4 separate regions of the Homo sapiens genome follow, and all the other regions are linked to region 2. The links are contacts of gene promoters, found by promoter capture Hi-C in human tissues and cell types (Jung and others, 2019). All regions are on one chromosome and are shown on one strand. The core of a region is centred on a gene start or on the middle of the fragment in contact, and the rest is flanking DNA. Distances in the headings are between cores, read along the strand shown. Region 1 has its middle 5.5 kb from the start of OVOL2. Region 2 holds the start of DZANK1 (double zinc ribbon and ankyrin repeat domains 1). Region 3 has its middle 6.1 kb from the start of SCP2D1-AS1. Region 4 overlaps SNX5 (sorting nexin 5).

Region 1 (2,703 bases), core at 70-2,569, 400 kb after region 2:
CGGGGGTTTCACCATGTTGGCCAGGATGGTCTCGATCTCCTGACCTCATGATCTGCCCGCCTTGGCCTCCCAAAGTGCTGGGATTACAGGCATGAGCCACCGTGCCCAGCCTCAACCTTTTTCTTTTCTTTTTTAAGTTCACAGTTCTTCAAGGTGGAAACCCTTTTTCTTTTGTGGTTTATTTTTTGGGTCTTATTTAAGAAATTCTTTCTTATCCTGTGGTCATAAACATATTCCTCTACATTGTCTATATACATATACATGTATATGTATTCACACACATCTAAATGTTTAATCCACCAGAAACTGATATGTGTGTTATTCAGTTTCCTTTATTTTTCCCAAACGGATAAGCACTTGTTCCAATTCCATGTATTGAATATGACATCTTTCCCTGCTGCACTGCATACCCTCTCTCATAAATCAATGCACACATATGTGTGGGGCTGTTTCCAGGCTCTCTCTCAGGTACCAGTGGTCCCTCTGTGAATGAAAGCCACATCATTTTAATTACTATTGATATCTGATTGATCAAGCCTACACACCTTGTCCTTCAGGAGTGTTTCGACTCTTCTTTCACATAAATTTTGAAAGAAATTTATCATGTCCCACAAAAAGACTGTCAAGTATTTTTAAAAATTGTATTATATCTATAGATGAATTTGGAGATTTTTGGCCTCTTTGATTCTGAATCTTCCAATCCATTAATATAGTAAAACTTTCCATTGATTAGTGTCTTCTTTAATGTCTTCCAATAAAGTTTTTTGTTGTTGTTGTTTGTTTGTTTTTTAGACAGGGTCTTCTTTTTTGTGGCCCAGGCTGGAGTGCAGTGGTGCCATATAGGATCACTGCAACCGCCACGTCCCGGGCTCAGGTGATCCTCCCACCTCAGCCTCCCGAGTCTCTGGGACTACAGGTGCACACCGCCATGCCCGGCTACCAATAAAGTTTTCTAATTTTATATACAAAGAGCTTGCACAATATTTTCAAAAAATCAATTGCAAGGGACTTTGTATTTTTGTTGTGTTTTAAATCATTTTTCATTAGACTTTTTATTTTTCTGACAGTTGCTGGCATGTAGAAATTTAATTGACACTGAAACCTTACACACTCAGATTCTTTTTTTTTTTCTGAGACCGAGTCTCGCTCTATCGCCAGACTGGAGTGCAGTGGTGCGATCTCGGCTCACTGCAACCTCCACCTCCTGGGTTCGAGTGATTCTCCTGCCTCAGCCTCCCGAGTAGCTGGGACTACAGGCATGCGCCACCATGCCCAGCTAATTTTTGTATTTTTTAGTAGAGACGGGGTTTCACCGTGTTGGCCTGGATGGTCTCAATCTCTTGACCTTGTGATTGCCCACCTTGGCCTCCCAAAGTGCTGGAATTACAGGCATGAGCCACTGTGCCCAGCCCACACTCAGATTTTCTACACTGCAATCTTGCTAAAGTCTCTTATTAATTCTAATAATTTATCTATAGATTCTTTTGGGTTTTCCGTAGACAGTGATGCTGACTACAAACAATAGTAGTTTTGTTGTTTTCCCTTATAATCCTTATACTCTTATTTCTTCTTTTTTGCCTTGCTGTACCTGCAAGGAAGCAATCTAATGTGAGTGGGGTGGTGAGAGCAGGCACCCTTGGCTTGTACTTGGGTGCTTTTTCCACTAGTGAGTTCAGTGGGTAAAAATATATCATTTTCCTAATACTGTACTATACTTCAATTAAAAGTTTAGGTGGGAGGCGCGGTGGCTCACGCTTGTAATCCCAGCACTTTGGGAGGCCGAGGTGGGCGGATCATCTAAGGTAGGGAGTTCAAGATCAGCCTGACCAACATGGAGAAACCCCGTCTTTACTAAAAATACAAAAAATTAGCCGGGCATGGTGGTGCATGCCTGTAATTCCAGCTACTCGGGAGGCTGAGGCAGGAGAATCGCTTGAAATTGGGTGGCGGAGGTTGCAGTGAGCCGAGATCGTGCCATTGTACTCCAGCCTGGGGAACAAGAGCGAAACTCTGTCTAAAAAAAAAAAAAGTTTAAATAAAGTTTCCTTAGGAATATTTTCTCAACAACATCTTACCCTCTCCTTATTGCTGTGTGCTCCAGGGATGCCACTGAGCAGGTTTGTACCTGCCTCCTTTCAACCTGAATATATATTACTGGAGAAAAGAAGTCTTAAGTGAGGGTGCAGATGGCTGCTTTCAAGAATTTGAAGAGCTACCAGGGGGAGGGAGTACAGGGGGAGTCTCAGCAGCCCTGGATGACAGAATAAAAGGGGAGATGGAAGGGCAGGAAAGCAGATTTCCACAAGCAGAAAGAAAAGCTTTCTAGCATCATTGTTGTCTAACCAGAGAATAGGTTGCTTTTTGAGACAGTGAGCTTCCCAACACTAGAAGTATTCAAGCAGGGCTAGATACATACCTACCAAGGATGCTGTACAGACCCCTCACCCCCAATATTGGGCGGGGTATGGACCACATTATGTCTCCTGTCTCTTCCAACTTCAGTCTTGAGATTTGTAAAGAATTGGATTCATTTCTTCTTTTTTTAAAATTGAAATTGTTTTTATTAACATCTTGTGTGTGTTTTTAAGTTCTGAGTATTCAACTTTGACTATGACCAAAATGTCTATATTTAAAGAGGTAACAAGGTATTTAACACATTGTGTAATATGAGCCAGATAAATTGCTTTCATACTGAGGGCTCCG
Region 2 (2,873 bases), core at 1-2,500:
CATGGTGAAACCCCGTCTCTACTAAAACATAAAAAATTAGCTGGGCGTGGTGGCGCGAGCCTGTAGTCCCAGCTACTCGGGAGGCTAAGGCAGGGGAATCGCTTGAACCCGGGAGGCGGAGATTGCAGTGAACCGAGATCGCGCCACTGCACTCCAGCCTGGCGACAGAGCGAGACTCTGTCTCACAAACAAACAAATAAAAATAAAAGTGGCAGAGGCTTTGGGTGTCCTAAAAGTCTTGAGTTCAATACTGCACTGAAACCACCTGGCTTAATGTTACTTCGTAATCACCAACTGCGCCCTAACTCCGCCTAAACGTTTTGTCATAGACGTTCCCTTAGTGACAAGAGCGATCCTGGATCAGAACATGTATTCACAAGTGTTCTACAGGGAAAGAAAGCCGAGGGCTCCTCTCAAAGCACTGATCGCGTCAAAGTAGGAAGGCAGCACGTCATCACAACTTCCCCAAAAGTATCAGGGCAAAGCCAGCCAGCTACACAAAGTTGCAAGCTGTCAAACCCATTTTGAACTTCTTGAGTTCTGCTCTCCCAGGATGGGAAGGAACAAGTGGGTCCAGAACCCCGCAATCGTTTTTCCCGCGTGCTCACCTAACCCGCTCCGGCCACTCCCAAGGGATCCCGGAGAAGGGGTCCAGCTGCCCAAATGACTGGGCGCCTGATGGAGTGCCAAGCCGGAGCCTCACTGGTTTACCTGTTTTCTATTTCGACCGGATCCGCGTCAGGCGGCTGCACCTTCACCTTCACCTCCGCCATGAGGGCGCAGTTCCTGACGCCTGGGGGGAAAGATGCACGGAGCAGCCCGGTAGCAAGCCGGGGAACCCGGGGAACCAGTGGAGGATAGCGCTCTGCTGAGGCCGAGGGGCCTTCTTCCTCGTGTCGCAGCCGGTCCTTCCTTGCCTTTCGGCGGGAGGTGGCCAAGCTGCGCCTGCTCCGGCCCACTTACAGGCGCCGCTACAGCTTCTTATTCTTGTTTTCCAGAATGTCAATGCCCATCGGACGCACAAGCCTGGTTCCTTCATTCTGAGTTGGGAAACCAACTTTTAGCACTTGGCAACTCTGTGAAGGAATATTCTTAGATGCCTATGGGAAAGCACTGGGAAAGGAACTCCAGGCGGGTACCAGGCTCCCTGCGGAGCGGCAGGGGCCGGTCTAGTTGCTAAGAAGCTGAGTCTCCACCAATCATCTGCCCAGCACCCAGTGGGCGGGGCGCGGCTCGCCGCGTCTGTGGTAACCCGGGCGGCGGCGAAGGAGGAGGCAAGAGGCGGTGAGAGGCTGGCGACTGGGTTGGGCGCGGCAGAGATGCATTAGGGGTCCCGATCCCGGGCCCCGCGGTTAGAGGAAGAGGAGGGCGGCTAGAGGAGGGGAAGAGCTTCCCTTACTCCAGCCGAAAGGATGCAGGTGTCCTTGGCAGCCCCTGATGGGCGGGAACAACCAAACGGGATTCCGGATCCGGGCTGCGAGGGGGCGGTCCACGTTGGGAGAGTTGAGGGGTCTGGGGATCCTGTTGACTGCACGTTGCCATTTGGGCCTGGCGGATCCGCCTTTTTTCTTGATTCCCTTTGCGTGGGGCCCACTGGCCACCCCAGCTTCCTAAGGGCAGCTGCTAGTTGACGCTCGCGAATTACTTCCTCTCCTACATATTTTTTATTTAGAATTTTTCAACTACTTTTATTTTATCTGCCTTTCACTTAAATGGAAATGCGACTATGGGCAAGTCTCAAGTCCAGCCACACTCCCGTAGGAGCTATTGTTGTGCTGTCAGTATCTGTAGTTTATATTCTTGGCCCTAGATCCGGAACTATCCAACAAGGCATTAAGTTCACCCCTTAAATTTAGGTACCCCATTTTTGAGAATACAGTCTGTGACAAAGCTCAAACTGCAGACATGTTCAGATCAGCATTATTAGAACTGCAACAGGCAAAACTAAAAAGAAACTAGAAATAGCCTAAATGCCCAGCCACAAATGGATAAATAAGTACAGGGAAAACTAAATAATACAGTGAGAATGCAAGAAGTAGACTATAAAAATGGAATGAATATGTAGATTATAATTGGGCAAAATCTATGGATTATTAATGAAATTTGAAAAGGCAATACAGAGATGTAAATGGTTGTTGTGTTAAGGTGAGCGTTTTTTCCCCCTGAAACCTTCTGTGCATTAATTATGACAACCTTCCTCCCCACCCTCACCTCCAAAAAGACCAGTAAGGCTTTCATACTGGTAGTTAATTATTAATACCAGGATTTATAAATACAGTAGATGAAACGGGAGGCTTGTGTTTATTGGTCACTGTTTATATTCTTGCAAACTTCCTTTCCACTGAGAAGTAGTACTCTGCAGTCCTTCTAAAGTGTCTTTGCAGCTTTCAAATACTAGAACTGCTCTGGTGATAATGGCAAGGCTGTGAACCCGGAGCTTTCCCAAAAAAGTTAGCTCTAACTAACATTTTGTGGTACACACAGAATTACTTCTGTTCCCCTTGTATGATGACTTGCCCTGAAGCCAAGAGAGCTGACACACACCAGAGGCAGGAAAAGGCGATAATGATTTACAGGGAACTCAAGTCAGAGCGTTAGTGATAGTCTCTGTTTTGCCTTACTCATTTAATTTGTCCTTTTAAAGTAACTTCTTTCTTTTCCCCATCTCATTCATTCATGCTCCTTTCGCAGAAGTGAGGTATTTAGATAATCAAAACCCCACACAAGACCTCAACAGCAAATACAGATGAAATGTAATTATTATTTCAATTAAAAAGGGAATAATATTTGTAGTGCCATGTTAACAGTATTCTCTCGTTTTAACTAGTTTTGCTGCATTTAAATTAAGTGCTGCTCTTCAGCTTTTGTGTACA
Region 3 (2,809 bases), core at 111-2,610, 370 kb before region 2:
TATTTTAACATTAATGCTGGTAGTTGTGTCTAAACTGCAAAAGGGCAGGGGTAATAAGGTGTGTATGACCTCCCATCCTGTCATGGCCAGCAACTCAGTTTTTTAGGTTTCTCTGGGGTCCCCTTAGCCAAGAGGGAGTCCATTCAGTCAGCTGCAGGGCTTAGGATTTTATTTTTAGTCGTCAGAATTCATTAACATACCTAGGTCTGAGCTGGAATCCAGTGAGTGCTAGAGCATTGAGGGGTCAAGTGGTGGGTGGAGGGCAGGGACCAGACAGAGCTATAGTCGTGGAAAGACACAGCCACTTCCAACTATTTTCACAGTTGGAAACTGAAACCATGGATAAGGAGAACTACCATATTGAGTGTTGTGTGCCCAGACCTATTTAAGTTTTTGCCTACCTAACCATATTAAGCTTTCACAACAACTCTATGTAATGGATGCTATCACTATTTCCCTTTCACAGATGAGAAACTGAGGCTCAGAGAGGTTAGGCAACTCACCCATGGTCATAAAGCTGGTGAATGGCAGAGCCAGGATTTGAACCCATGCAGTACATAAACTCCTGCCCAAAAGGCTTTACTGCCTATGGCAAAGCGTGGTCCCAGCAGATTTCCTGGGACACTGCAGGATTCTAAAGTGTCTCACATGTCACTCTGTTTGCTTCAATTACATTTACCTGATGATAATCTGTTTTGAAAACTGGTCATTGATGTGTGCTAAAAACAAAAAAAAATAGCCAGATTATTGTCCAGATTTTTATCAGACAAGGTTTGTTATTTACAATCTAGATTACTACCTGTGTAGAATTTTAACATTCACTACATTTCTTAAGCACTTACCCTCTGGGTGCTGAGATAAAGACTGTGTAAGTATCATCTCTACAAATCTTCATAATAACATAAGGAGGTACATATAGATCATCACCATCGCCATCATTAACATCATCCCATTTTATAGAAGAAGCTCACAAGAACCCTTCAAGTGCATTATTTTGTGCTCTGTAGCCAAAGTACATGGGAGCAGCCCACGGAGGCCCTCTGAGGCCTTAACCAATCTCTATCAGCTGTAGCTTTCTCCCCTCTTCCACATCTTCCTGCCATCCTGGCGGCTGCTGTCTCATTGCTTCTCTCTTCTCAATCTTTCTCTCTCTCTCACTTCCCTGTCCTGCTCTCTCCCTTGTCCACATCACGGACCACTCAGCTGCTTCCCAGACATTGTTAGCCCTAAGGGTGATATCTAAGATCTCATTTCCAAAGGAACAGTTCCTACCAGGAGCACCCCAAACGTTCCTCAACACCAGCGACAGGTACAAGAAATGTTTCCTTTTGGGAAATATCCATCCTGAACATCTGATAAATTCAGACATAGGGACATGGAGAAGCTATAATACTTATTTCAAACCATTAACAGAATCAGGAATCACATTTAAGTTATCTTTACTTATCTAAGCTGACAGAGGCAAAAATCAGCATGTACAATCCAAATACACAGGCAAAAGGAGAGAGATTGTGGCTGGGCATGATATTCAAATGCTGTGTTGTGGCCATTCTTACAAGCACATTTTGTTCATATGTCATCATCCTGAAATCAAGGCTATTATTAATGGTGTCTTCATAATTGCTGTTGGATGGGCAGCAACAGCACTACAGTTATCTTTGCCATCATCTCAGTCATGGTGCATTACGTCATCGCTTCAGTTGTGGGTTGCAGGTTCTGTGGCTGTTGGGTTTAATTTCCATTGAAAATACAAACCAAGGCATATAAAAGGGCAATTTAGCCTTGTCCCTTTACTCCATCAGGGTCTTTCCAGACTAATCTGATTTAGAGGGTAAAGCCTGTGGTGTGTGGCTCACGAATGTTCTTAATCATGGAACACCTACTGGAAACTTCCTTGGACTGTGGCAATGATTGTTTCCAAAGACAAGGCCAAAATTTGACTTTGTGTGTGTTTTCACAAATTTGTTAAAGGGAAGTCAGAAACAGGAATATAAGAAAGGGCTACTCCACAGTTGTGTAACACCAGGAGGCTCCCAGTCTACAAATTGTTGCTGTTAAAGATCACATTCTTTGCAAGCCTACTTGGCCATGGGGTTACAGAGTGAATAAATCCAATGCTGACCTAGTGTCTTTTCTAGAGATGACTAGGGCACCTCTGATCTGACCTCCCTCCCTCACAGGATCAAACCTCAGAGCATCACTCCATAAACAAGCCTATGACATGGCTTTTAACATTTTGTTCAAAAAAGAATACTAGCAAACTTTTTGACAGTAACTACTGAAGTGGACCACAGATGGACTCTAAGGCACAGCAGTTCCAATTCTAGGTACATGCCCAATAGAAACATGTACTTACATTTACCAGAAGACATGTACTAGAATCTTTGACTTTTATTAATAGCCCCAACTAGAAATAAATGATGTCTGTCAGTAGCACAATGAATACATAAATTGTATTTTATTCATATAACCACATACTATAAAGCAAAAAGAATAAACAGTCTATGACTACATGCAACAACATGGAGACTCTCACAGACATAATGTGGAATGTCAGGAAAGTATACCTACTGGATGACACTATTTGTATAAAGTATACTCTAACTATCTCTTGCTGTGCAACAAATGACCTGAAAAGTTAGTGGCTTTAAACAGCAGCAACATTTTTTTATAAGTCTGCATTTGGGCAAGGCTTGGTAGATGACAACTCATCTCTACTCCACTCTGAGGTACGTGGGAAGATGGGAATGCAGGGGGGTGGAATCATCTGAAAGCTTCTCCTCCTATAGGTGGTAGCCAATGCTGGCTG
Region 4 (2,845 bases), core at 271-2,770, 510 kb after region 2:
TCTACTGTGAACTGCTTGTGTGTTGGCAGGCTACCGGTAAGAATGGTTGGTGTCAGCAGGGACGGGGCCCTCTGAGACCCATCTCACAAAGATGAGTGGTGAAAATCTGATCACTTGCTGCAGCCCTTTAGTTTTTTATTAAGCCGATGCCTGAGTAGCTTTAATAGCTATTAGCTATGTTAGTAGACTGAGATCTTCTGTTAGAAGTCTTTAGTTCTGTTTTCCTTGGGGGACTAAGAAATTATATTGCAGGCCTGAATTACAGGAAGGGGAGAACCAATGGCTAGGGAATGAGAGCCAATACCTGTAAAAGCAGAGTTGGGCTGGGCGCGGTGGCTCACGCCTATAATCCCAGGACTTTGGGAGGCTGAGGCGGGCAGATCACGAGGTCAGGAGTTAGAGACCAGCCTGACCAACATGGTGAAACCCTGTCTCTACTAAAAATACAAAAATTAGCTGGGTGGGGTGGTGGGCGCCTGTAATCCCAGCTACTCAGGAGGCTGAGGCAGGAGTATCTGGGAGAATTGAACCCCGGGGGTGGAGGTCGCGGTGAGCTGAGACTGTGCCACTGCACTCCAGCCTGGGCAACAGAGTGAGACTCCGTCTCAAAAAAAAAAAAAAAAAAGCAGAGTTAATATATTGCTTATAGTTAGTTGAACCAGTTGTTTCTCACACACCAGTGCCATAATCTAAAGCTGAGATTGAACACAGATAGGTACGTATTAGTTATCTTCAGGATGGCAGAGAATAGTAACAATTCGGAGCACCAATGGGAACATTGTTTCCTGAGAGTTCAAACAGTAACAAAGTAGCATGTGTTTCCTAAATATGTATCATGTGAATCTTTAATATTTGTGGACATTAATACAAATCTAGAGTGTGACAGAACATCTTTGAATTTTATATTCTCACTTAACAAATATTGGACTAGGCAAGGTGTGGATATCTTTCCAGCTGAAAATCTGATCAAGGAGGCAGGCTTCTTGGCTCCATGCTAAGAATCATCGATGATTTGTCATATTGGCCCTCTTGCTGGCAAAATCTTAGTTTCTTAGGCAGTGGAATGAAACATAACAAAACAAAATCCCTAGAGGCTAGGAACAGATAGTTTGAAAGAGAAGACACTGTAGCATGTGCTGCTTAAGTACATATCTTCTGCTTTTGGAATGGAAACTAGGAAGTCATTTAAATAGATATGTGTCTTTTTTATCCTATCTGTAGTAATTTATGTGGGATATTCAAATAGGAAAATACAGGCTAGCACTGCATATTGTATCCATGTCTTACATTGTATACAAATGACTATTAGATTTAAATGACTGTTCAACTAGCCCCAATCTAACAGATCAGAGATTGTGGAGTTTCACTTCTTTGGACTGTGTCTTTTTCATTTTGGCACTGAGTCTGCAGTCACCATAACCACTTAGAAAAAACTGTATTTTTTCTGTTCTCCTGGTGGGTTCTGAGTTTTAGAATCTTGCCTTTTGTGTTGTTCAGTCATCCAGGTGCCCTTTGCCCTCTGTAAGCCATTAAACCTTTTGAAGAGGCAGCTTTGCTGGTAGAGTCGTAAGTGAAATTTGGACCAAAAGTGAGTTTATGAAGACTGGTGGGCAGGAGCTCAACAGCTGCAGGGTTGTCCTGCAGCCAGTGTCTGATGTGCCCCAGCTGGGAAGCTGATGAATAGGTGAGGAAATGCACAGGGATTCCGTAACTACTTTTCTCCTTTTAGGGAAGTGCCTTGGCTCTCTTACCAAAAGCACTGCGATTTTTTAAAACAGTTGAAAATGTGCTTTCCAAATGAAGCCGTGCTTGTTTACCGTGAAGGCTGATTATAATCCGTATTGTAAGGATTGACCTGGTAGGGAAGTACATCATGAACTGAAACTTTACCTAAAACTTTGGATACGTGATCCAGTAGTTTCAAGGGAAATCTACAAAAGTCAGGTTTTTAAAAATTTTTTAAAAATTCTGAAATAGAGATGAGGTCTCACCGTTTTGCTCAGGCTGGGTTGTTGGGTTTGTTTTTTATGTGTAGTTTTTTTTTTTTTTTTTGGAGACTCGCTCTGTTGCCCAGGCTGAAGTGCAGTGGTGCGATCTTGGCTCACTGCAACCTCCTCCTCCCGAGTTCAAGCAGTTCTTCTGCCTCAGCCTCCTGAGTAGCTGGGATTACAGGCGCACGCCACCATGCCAGGCTAATTTGTGTGTGTTTTTTTGTTTGTTTGTTTTTTTAAGACGGAGTTTCGCTCTCATCGCCCAGGCTGGAGTGCAGTCGCGTGATGTCGGCTCACTGCAACCTCTGCCTCCTGGGTTCAAGCGATTCTCCTACCTCAGCCTCCTGAGTAGCTGGGATTACAGATGTGCGCCACCATGCCCAGCTAATTTTTGTATTTTTGGTAGAGACGGGGTTTCACCGTGTTGGCCAAGATGTTCTCGATCTCCTGACCTTGTGATCTAGCTGCCTCCACCTCCCAAAGTGCTGGGATTACAGGCGTGAGCCACCGTGCCTGGCCACTTTTTGTATTTTTAGTAGAGACGGGGTTTCACCATGTTGGTCAGGCTGGTCTCGATCTCCTGACCTCAAGTGATCTGCCTACCTTGGCATCCCAAATTGCTGGGATTGCAGGCGTGAGCCACCACACCCAGCCAGAAGTCAGTTTTAAAACTTAAATTATTTGAGAGTAGGTATATTTTCAATTTGATTCTTACAAGTGACCTAAGGGATCTGGAAAAGAGGTAAAACTTTGCATGGTAAAGGTCCGGCATGCCCAAGGCTGGACTTGGTTCTAAAGCCTGCTTTGTTAACTGTTGTAAACGGCCACTGTAAGCATTGTAACATCTGTGGCCT

Evidence for each region. Contacts are between HindIII fragments. The study calls those that stand out against the background at their distance.
Region 1: a contact is called between a fragment that was not itself captured here and the fragment with the promoter of DZANK1 in region 2, in 1 of the 25 tissues and cell types used here (mesenchymal stem cells).
Region 3: a fragment that was not itself captured here is called in contact with the fragment with the promoter of DZANK1 in region 2 in 2 of the 25 tissues and cell types used here (ovary and spleen).
Region 4: a fragment that was not itself captured here is called in contact with the fragment with the promoter of DZANK1 in region 2 in 1 of the 25 tissues and cell types used here (dorsolateral prefrontal cortex).

The regions. Positions count from the first base shown.
Region 1 is chr20:18,062,083-18,064,785 of GRCh38, reverse strand. No RefSeq gene overlaps it. Among named protein-coding and RNA genes, the nearest start is that of OVOL2, 5.5 kb to the right of the region's middle. The HindIII fragment of the contact is 6,139 bases long and covers 1-2,703 here.
Region 2 is chr20:18,465,407-18,468,279 of GRCh38, reverse strand. DZANK1 (double zinc ribbon and ankyrin repeat domains 1) reads left to right here and starts at 1,250. Exons shown (of 21, transcript NM_001367614.1): 1 at 1,250-1,284. POLR3F (RNA polymerase III subunit F) reads right to left here and starts at 890. Exons shown (of 9, transcript NM_006466.4): 1 at 712-890. The coding sequence starts at 773. RefSeq lists enhancers at 810-1,129, 752-1,370. The HindIII fragment of the contact is 23,548 bases long and covers 1-2,873 here.
Region 3 is chr20:18,834,905-18,837,713 of GRCh38, reverse strand. No RefSeq gene overlaps it. Among named protein-coding and RNA genes, the nearest start is that of SCP2D1-AS1, 6.1 kb to the right of the region's middle. The HindIII fragment of the contact is 6,459 bases long and covers 1-2,809 here.
Region 4 is chr20:17,959,979-17,962,823 of GRCh38, reverse strand. All of the region lies in intron 1 of SNX5 (sorting nexin 5), which reads left to right. SNORD17 (small nucleolar RNA, C/D box 17) reads left to right here; the gene lies at 1-114. Among named protein-coding and RNA genes, the nearest start is that of SNORD17, 1.5 kb to the left of the region's middle. RefSeq lists an enhancer at 1,393-1,562. The HindIII fragment of the contact is 8,206 bases long and covers 1-2,845 here.